2 separate regions of the Homo sapiens genome follow, and region 1 is linked to region 2. The links are contacts of gene promoters, found by promoter capture Hi-C in human tissues and cell types (Jung and others, 2019). All regions are on one chromosome and are shown on one strand. The core of a region is centred on a gene start or on the middle of the fragment in contact, and the rest is flanking DNA. Distances in the headings are between cores, read along the strand shown. Region 1 overlaps CDH22 (cadherin 22). Region 2 holds the start of CD40 (CD40 molecule).

What was found. The method cuts DNA at HindIII sites, captures the fragments that hold promoters and counts their contacts. A contact is called where the count stands out against the background at its distance.
Region 1: a contact is called between a fragment that was not itself captured here and the fragment with the promoter of CD40 in region 2, in 2 of the 25 tissues and cell types used here (liver and pancreas).

The regions. Positions count from the first base shown.
Region 1 is chr20:46,282,879-46,287,282 of GRCh38, forward strand. All of the region lies in intron 1 of CDH22 (cadherin 22), which reads right to left. Among named protein-coding and RNA genes, the nearest start is that of CDH22, 23 kb to the right of the region's middle. The HindIII fragment of the contact is 8,751 bases long and covers 1-4,404 here.
Region 2 is chr20:46,115,575-46,119,961 of GRCh38, forward strand. It overlaps CD40 (CD40 molecule), which reads left to right and starts at 2,740. Exons shown (of 9, transcript NM_001250.6): 1 at 2,740-2,820. The coding sequence starts at 2,770. RefSeq lists a cis regulatory region at 1,922-4,019, enhancers at 1,961-2,777, 2,543-2,602, 3,613-3,962 and a silencer at 2,519-2,738. The HindIII fragment of the contact is 12,179 bases long and covers 1-4,387 here.

The sequences.
Region 1 (4,404 bases), core at 366-2,865, 170 kb after region 2:
TCCTTGCTGCTCAGAGCTTTGTTCAGGAAGGCGGGCTCTTCAAAGCTAGGGACAGGAGTGGGAGCAGCTGGCCAGGTCTAGGGGAGCCTGGAGTCCAGAGACCCAGGTTCATGGCCCAGGGCTTCCACAGACTCTGTGCAGCTCTCGCCTCTTCCTGGCCCTCCTCCACTGCCATCCTTTGCTTCCACATCCTTTCATTTTTGTTTACAGCATGCAGTACGGCATGGGGTGCCCCCCACATCCAGTTATGGCAAGAAGCATAACTGTCTCCATTTTACAGAGGAGATGCCTGGATGTACCTCTGGTCACACAAGTGGTGCAAGCTCGAGTTGGGGTTGGAACCTATGTCTTCAGCCTCCAAGTGCACTGGGAATGCATTCTGGGAGCAGGGGGAGGTCTGGAGTCTGAGTAGAGTGGACAGGACATGAGCTCCAGAATTACACAGACTCAGATTCCGATTCCAGCTGCGTGACCTGGGACACGTTCCCTAACATCTCTGGTCTTCCACTTTCCCATCCGTACACTGCAGTAATGATAGGAACTGCCCCCGGGGCTATGGTGAGGATGAAGAGGGGGTGGAATCACTATGCGATGCCTGCCCTCCATGGAAGCTGGATATTGCTGTCATTACCGTAGTTACAAGAAATGACCCTCATTTTACAGATGAGAAAACTGAGGCCTGCAGTCACAGAGACTTCCCCATAGTCATTCAGTGAGTCAGCGGCAGGGAATCCAGACCTCTAGGAGCTTGGCAGACCATGTGTGTCTGGCTCATGCCAGCACCTCCCCAGGTATCCACCCACCCCTGATTCTGAGTTGGATGTCTACCCTCCCCACCCCCACCGCCATCACCAAAGAGTCCCAGAGAGCAGCTTCACATGGAGTCCCGGGCCTTTCTGCACTTTTCTGCTCCCCAATCCATTTCTCTGTTTCTGTCTCACACACACACATATGCACACACACCACACGCATACACACACCCCGTGAGCCAAAGCAGGAGCGGAGGATCCCACCACAGCCAAATGTTGCCTGACTTCCCTGAGCAGCAGATGAATGAGTCCTCACAGCTAACAAACGGCTGTCGGAAAGGTGGGAGAATGAAGGTAATTAGTCCCCTTAATGCCGACTTCAGACTAATCTTTCACACTTAAGGAAATTGTTCCAATGATTTTCTTATTTTCAGGGGAGCTCGTTAAGTAAGAATTAGAAAAATAGATATGGCAGGAGATAAGAAAATGGATTTTGTAGTGACAAGCTGCCTATACACACCGAGAGGGGGCTGGCTGGCCCGGGTCTGACGCACAGACCCAGATCTTCCTGGAGTGCATGACAGGAAGGTGTGCCAGAGTCCCTGGGCAGGACAAAGACCACCAGGGGGACAAAGGTGATCAGTGAACCCTGATTGCAGTTCGTCTTTGCACCCAGACCATCGTTCTCAGCCTCCCTGCTCCTAAGCCCTGGCTGGAAGAAGCGGTTCACAACTTTCCTCAACATCTGGAAAGAATGATGTCTTTGCAGGGACCCACTGCAGAAAATTCAGACCTCAACACCTTCTGGGATCTTTGGGGGAAGCCAAGGAACATTTATTGAATCCCTGCTGTATGCAAGCTGCTGTGCTGGCTGCTTTCTCTCCATTTCACCTGACAGCCCCAGGAGGTAGATGTACAGAGGTGGAGGTGCAGACTCAGAGGTGGGGCCGATGTTCAGCTAGCCCTGTCAGTTGTTTTCAACTGTCACCTGTTCTGATTGATCAGTGAGTATGCTGGTCCAGTGGCTCAGTATTTTTAATATTTCTCTTTGTCATGTGAGCCAAGGCCACAGGGCTGTAGATTCCCATCTGAAACTGGAACCCATGGTGTCTGACACCAAAGCACGCCATTTCTGTCCCTCCAGGCCGCCTCTGTGTAAGGAGTCCCAGTGGGAAGGAGGCATGGAGGGGATGACTTGGAGCCAGGAGAAACTGTCTCCTGCCGAGATAGTGCAGCTTTACTAGGTGGGAAAATGGGAGGGAAAGTCTGAAAGGTGTTTGTCCTTCTGGGATGGGCACAGATCATTTTTCCCTCACTCCTCATCAGCACTCATTCCTGCCTCTCCATCTCTGCTCAGGCTTTCCCCCGACCCCCAACCTGACCACTGTACCCAGTGCTGATCACTCCTGGTCTTCATTCATCCCCAACAGCCCCAGACTTCTCTTTCGCCCCTGTACCTGGTGGGGACTCATTGGTTCCCATGTTTAGCTGCATTCTGGGAAGCTTGCCTTTGCATGTGCCGTGACCATCCGGTCTGTGGACCAGGTTGCAGCATTGTTAGCAGAACTGCCTGGTGATTGGCTCTGCCAAAGGAGAATTGTTCTCGAACAGGCCAAATGGGAAAACGAGACTTTGTGAAAATGTCAACATGACATTTTTCCTGGGTCACAGGCCAAGTCTCCCCCACTCCCCCACCACAATGTAGACCTCTGCTGTGCAGAATTTGTGTGTTTGGAGAAAGCCCCTAGTGCAGTGCTTCTCAACCAGGGGGGACCTTGCGACCCTTGGGACATTTGCAACGTCTGGAGACATCTTCGCTTGTCACAACTGAGAGGCTGCTACTGGCATCTAGTGGGTGGAGGGCAGGAATGTTGCTAAACATTCCAAAGTGCCCAGGACACCTTCCCCCCAAACACCCATACACAAAATAATTATCAAACCTAAGATATCAGTAGTGCTGATGTTAAGAAACTGCCCTGCGGTCATCTGATCCAACGTTCCCTTTAAGCAACTTACCTCAGAGTTGGGGATAGAATCCAGGTCTCCTGACTGTTTCTACCACTGAGATTAAATGATGGAAAGGGAATTGGACCTCTGAGGCAAGATTCAGGGTTCAGACACCTTTTGTTTTCAATTTGACACATATACATTGTGCTCCTGTGACATACCAGGCATTGGACAAGGTGCTGGGTACTCAGTGGTGGATTAAAATATATACAATCTCTGCCCGTTTGGGACTCCCATGTAGTGGATTTTGAGCTGGGTGACCTTAGGCATGTCTCTTCCTCCTCTGAGCCTTAGTTTCCTAATCTCTAAAATGGGCACGACAGGCTGTCTGTCCCAGCATTTTTGTCAGGCCTTCAGGAATTTAAATGTCAAATACAATTGTAGATTCTCGATAAACATTTAAGTGGATTGAATGCTTCTCCTTCCTGGAGAGGGCTGGCAGGTGGTGGGGAGAGTTTTTCTACAAGGAAAAGAGAAAGGGGAGAAAACTAAGACATTATGGAGCACTTACTGTATGCTTTTCATGGGATCTTCCTGTCAACCCTGGAAGGCAGGTGTTCTCTTACTCAAAGAGAAGATGAGGAAACGGGGGCTCAGAGAGGGAAAGGGACATGCTCAAGCTGGATTTGAACCCAGCTGCCTGGCTCTTTCAGCTCTCCCACTCTGATGCTGGGCAGGGAGTCGAGGTCCAAATCTGACCACGCCTGGCCCTCAAGCCTTATTCCCCAGCATCCCCCGGGGTCTCAGTCTCACCCCATTAGCGCTGCTTTAAAAAGTGCGGACCGACCAGGGCGCGTTATTGCCCACATAAATCAGGCAGCTCCAAGTATGGAACACCTTTAAACAAACAGCTGATGGGAGTGAAGTTCCAGGATCATTATTAATAGCTTTTCATTTCAGTGGCCGCTGTGCTGTGACATGCCTTCCCAGCAGAAACCCTGCGCAGCCAGCCCCCGATCCGCCGATCCCCCGAGTCTACCAGTCAGAATGAATGACTGTACCTTTGTGTTAATTGTGGAGCCCAGCCACATGCAGAATGCTAATAGGGCTGAGTGAGAGGGGGTGGGTGCCAGCCTTGCCTGGTTGCTGGGCGGGGAAGGACCCCACCTCTGGTCTTCCTCCGTGGCAGCCAGCTGCTATATCTGTCTAACATCCTTATCTGAGCTCTGCCCTCCTCTGCTCTAGAAAGCCCTATGGCTCCTGTGGCCCAGACCCAATTCCAGACTCATCTGTCTGCCATTCAGGGTCCTTCATGTCTCTTCCTTTCTGTGGCTCCAGCCTCCTTTCTTGCATTCCAATACCATGGAGTCCTGTGCTGCTCAAACTCTTATTCATTTATTCATCCATTCAATCAATCATCCATTTATTCAATAAACATTTACTAAGCCCTCTGAGGGATAGAGGGGATGAAGCTGTGAACAAGACGGGCATGGTCCGTCATCCCATGGAATTTAATATCAAGCAGAAAAGACAGACGTTAGGTCTGTGTCAGTTTAGCTCTTTATCATCTGTGTAACCTTGCATGAATAACCTCTTCTGGGCCTCAGTTTCCTCCTCTGTAGAATGGGAATAATAACAGTAGCTACCTCACACGGTGGTGTCAGGACTTAAATAGCTAAAAAGATATGTGAATCACTCAATATTCCTC
Region 2 (4,387 bases), core at 1,490-3,989:
TCAGCACCCATATATTGGTGTCCTATTATGTACCTAGGACTGGGATAGATCCAGTCCTGCCCTCAGGGAGCTCACAGTCAAATGGGACCAGGCAGAAGGAGTTATGAGCTGGCATGCTAAATGCTGTGGCAACACAGGGGAGGAGGCAGGGTGGGATAGAGTACCTACCTCTGCCTCAGGGAGTTGGGGAAGGTGTAAGAGGAGGCAACATTTAAACTGTTTAAGAAAGGAGAAGGAAAGGAAGGAAACATCAAGAGCAATGAGATAAACCGTAAGGAAAAAAGATTGTGTGCCTGGGAAGTGGGGAGAGGCTGAAGCCAGTGTGCATGGGAGGACGTGGCAGGAAGTAAGCATAGAAAGAGAGGTTGGGGCTGAGTGAGGAAGGGTGTGCTTTGCCAGGATAAGAAATTTGGATCATCCTGAGGGTGCAGGGAAACCCAAAGAGGCTTTTATGCAGGAAAGTGTCCCAGTCGATCAGATCTGGAGTTTATCAAGAGAATCGCAGCAGTGTAAAGAGTTGCCTGGCACATAGTAGGTGCTCAATAAATCCTGTGGAATGAGAGAGGCTGTTGGGACAGTCCAGATGAAAGATGGCACCCTCTGAATTAGGGCAGTGGCAGAGGTGACAGAAAATAAGGGATGGATCCTAGAGGCAGAATCCACAAGACTTGCAAATGTGCCCTTAACAGCAGAAGCCATGAGAATGGGGTTAGAAGTGTCCTCCTCTTCCATCCTCCCTGATCTGTGAGGTCTGGCCTCTTGTCCTCTTCCAGAAATTGAGAGCTTGGAGGGTCATCACCTCAACCGTTGTCTAGTTCAAGCTCCTAAGTTTTCCTTGGAGAAAAATTTAGGCCTAAGGGAACACAGTCCTTCAGAGGCAGAGGCTGCACCAGAACCCAGGTGTTCCATGCTGCAAAGCAGAGTGTTAACACTGGTTCAAGAACATCTTGAGGGCCAGGTGCGGTGGCTCATGCCTGTAATCTCAGCACTTTGGGAGGCCAAGGCAGGCGGATCACCTGAGGTCAGGAGTTTGAGACCAGCCTGGCCAACGTGGAGAAACCCCGTCTCTACTAAAAATACAAAAATTAGCTGGGCGTGGTGGCGCCAGCCTGTAATCCCAGCTACTCGGGAGGCTGAGGCAGGAGAATTGCTTGAACCCAGGAGGCAGAGGTTGCAGTGAGCCGAGATCATGCCACTGCACTCCAGCCTGGGCAACAGAATGAGACTCTGTCAAAAAAAACCCAAAAACCAAAAACCAAACAAACACCCAAAAAACAAAACGAAACAAAAAACAAAAAAACAAAAGCACGTCTTCAGAGTTCATGAACCCAGGAAATGTAGGCACAAGTGTGTGTGTTTCTGCAAAATGAGAGGGTCCCGAGTTTCCTAACATACTTAAAGTGTTTTATGATGCCACAAAAGGCTGGCCCACTCTTTTTTTTTTTTTGAGATGGAGTTTTGCACTGTCGCCCAGGCTGAAGTGCAGTGATGTAATCATTGCAATCATGGCTCACTGCAACCTTGACTTCTTGAGCTCAAGCGATCCTCCTGCCTCAGCCTCCTGAGTAGCTGGGACTACAGGTGTTTGCCACCATGCCTGGCTAACTTAAAAATTTCTTTATTTTGTAGAGATGGGGGTCTTGCCATGTTGCCAGGCTGGTCTTGAACTCCTGGCCTCAAGCAATCTCCCTTTTTGGCCTTCCAAAGTGTTAGATTACAGGCGTAAGCCACCGCGCCTGGCCCCCACCTTTATTTTTATTTTTATTTATTATTTATTTTTTTTTTTTTTGAGACTGAGTCTTGCTCTGCCTTCGAGGCTGGAGTGCAGTGGCACGATCTCGGCTCATTGCAATCTCTGCCTCTGCGGTTCAAGCGATTCTCCTGCCTCAGCCTCCCGAGTAGCTGGGATTACAGGCGAACGCCACTACATCCGGTTAATTTTTGTATTTTTAGTAGAGACGGAGTTTCACTATGTTGGCCAGGTTGGTCTCGAACTCCTGACCTCAAGTGATCTGCCCGCCTCGGCCTCCTAAAGTGCTGGATTACAGGCGTGAGCCACCGCGCCCGGCCCCACTCTTAATAAATGCCTGTCTCCAGGTGCTGGGTGGGAGGTGGGATGGAATGGAATGAGGTGAGGACGCATGGATGCATGGATGAATGGATGGGAAGTTGAGACGACGCGCCCACACGAGGGAATTTCCTTTGAAAGAGAGCGAAATTCTGAGTTGGGAAACTCTTCCTTGAAACGCCTCCCCATACCCCAGCTGTGGCCTTCCCGTTTTCTGCGTGGTGGTGTGGGGGGAACTTCCTCAGGCCTCTCCGCAGTGGAGCCTCTTTCGGTTCTGCCAGGATACCTAGAGGCAGCGGAGAGCGGGGCAGGGAGGGGAAAACCGTGAGGGTCCCTGTGGCAGGCCCCAGCACCCATGGGATCTCTCTCCGGTCGCAGGAAGCAGGCTAGCTCCTAGCCCGCCTCGGCTTGGCCTTTGTGGGACCTGGGGGCAAAGAAGAAGAGCTGTCTCTGGGACCATGCCTCCTCCCGTACACAGCAAGATGCGTCCCTAAACTCCCGGGGGAATTAGACTTGTGGGAATGTTCTGGGGAAACTCCTGCGCGGTGAATTGCTGGGGGCTCCGCCCCCCCGATAGGTGGACCGCGATTGGTCTTTGAAGACCCCGCCCCTTTCCTGGGCGGGGCCAAGGCTGGGGCAGGGGAGTCAGCAGAGGCCTCGCTCGGGCGCCCAGTGGTCCTGCCGCCTGGTCTCACCTCGCTATGGTTCGTCTGCCTCTGCAGTGCGTCCTCTGGGGCTGCTTGCTGACCGCTGTGAGTTGTTTTTGCCCCGACCAGACGGGAGTTGGGAGTGGGGAATGAGAAGGAAAGGGAAGGAAGACTTCGGGGAAGAGGCCTTCCTGGCTGATTTTTGTGGGGGCAGGAGGGTGGGTGGGAGCTGGGCAAGGTGCCCCCGCTCCTGGCTGAATGGGGTGGGCTGCCTCTCTCTTCTCCCGGGCTGGGGTCCCGGGAGCGGCCTACAGGGGCCGCTCAGGGAAGGCACTGGCTGCCCAAGCGTGCCTAGACGGCCTGGACGGGTTTAGGGAGCCTCAGAGGCTGGCCACACAGAGACTGGTAGGGGGTTCAGAGGGCGGGAAGTGAGGCGGACCAAGGGAAGGGGCGGGTCTGGCCCGTTTCCTGTCCCCTTCTTATTGTGGACAGATGCCAGCCTCTGTAAGTAGTTATCATCTCCTTGCCAGCTGGGGCTGCCTTCTTCCAGGGCATCTTGTGGGAACAAGAGATGGGTGCAGAGGCCCAGGTACTTTTGTGAGAAGGCAAGGAGCTTTTAACATCGCCTTCCACCCCGAACCGTATCTTGGGTGTTCCAACCTAGGAGGAATCCCCAGGGCTTTGCCTTTTTCTCCTGAATTTAAGATGACATAGGAGACCCCTGGGGAGATGAACAGTTTATGGGACACAATAAAGGGTTAGGAGACCAGAGTTCTGGTTGGCTCTGACAGGGCTGGTGATCAGAGGGCTGGAGAAACCAGGGGTTTCTCCAGGCACCAGAGGGGCTCAGAGCCAACCAAGCATATCTCCGGGATTTTCAGAAGCCTACACTTGACTCACTTTTTGTTTAAATGTATTTTTGTAGTTCCTCATTCTGGAGGCTGGGAATCCCCCAAGTACCTGGCTCCTTCATCCCAGCCCCTCTGGCCTCCCCCTACTTTAGAGGGCTGTAGATTCCTGCCTGAAGCCTGGGCAGGAATGACCCATGGTATCAAGGAAAGCAAGGGAAGCAGCAAGGGAAGAGAGGGAGTGGGGAGGCTGCTTTGGTCCCACAGCTTTCACTTTCACCTGAAGCAATGGCTCTTAGGGAACAGGGAGGCAGGGGGAGGGCGGAGCTGGAAAGAGGTAAAGGGGGGCCCTTGTGGTAGGAGTGGAGAAAGAGCCAGAGGAGGTGGGGTGAAGGGTGTGATCCAGGCTTCTCAAGAGCAGAGTTTGCCCTCATAACTCCCAACTTTGGCTCCAGGTAGAGGCTGGGCTGTGACAACAATGTCAGAAGCTATCTATTGAGGGCTTCTTGTGTGTCAGGCTCTGAGCCAAACACTGCCTGTTTTCTTTGTCTGATTTCTCACAACTCCCCCATTATACAGATGGGCAAATTGAGGCTCAGAAAGGGGGATTGTCTTGCCAAAGGTCTCATAGCTAGCTAATGGAAGAACCTGGTTGTGAATCTACATCTGCATGATTCCCGAGCCTGCCTCTCAGATAGTGAGAGTCTCCAAGCTCTGGTCCTGAGCTGTTTTGTGGCAGAAGGACCAGAACTATGGGGAGTGAGAACTGGAGATTGACAGACTTTTAGGGGAGCGTTTTATTTCTCATGTGTTTGAAGATGGTA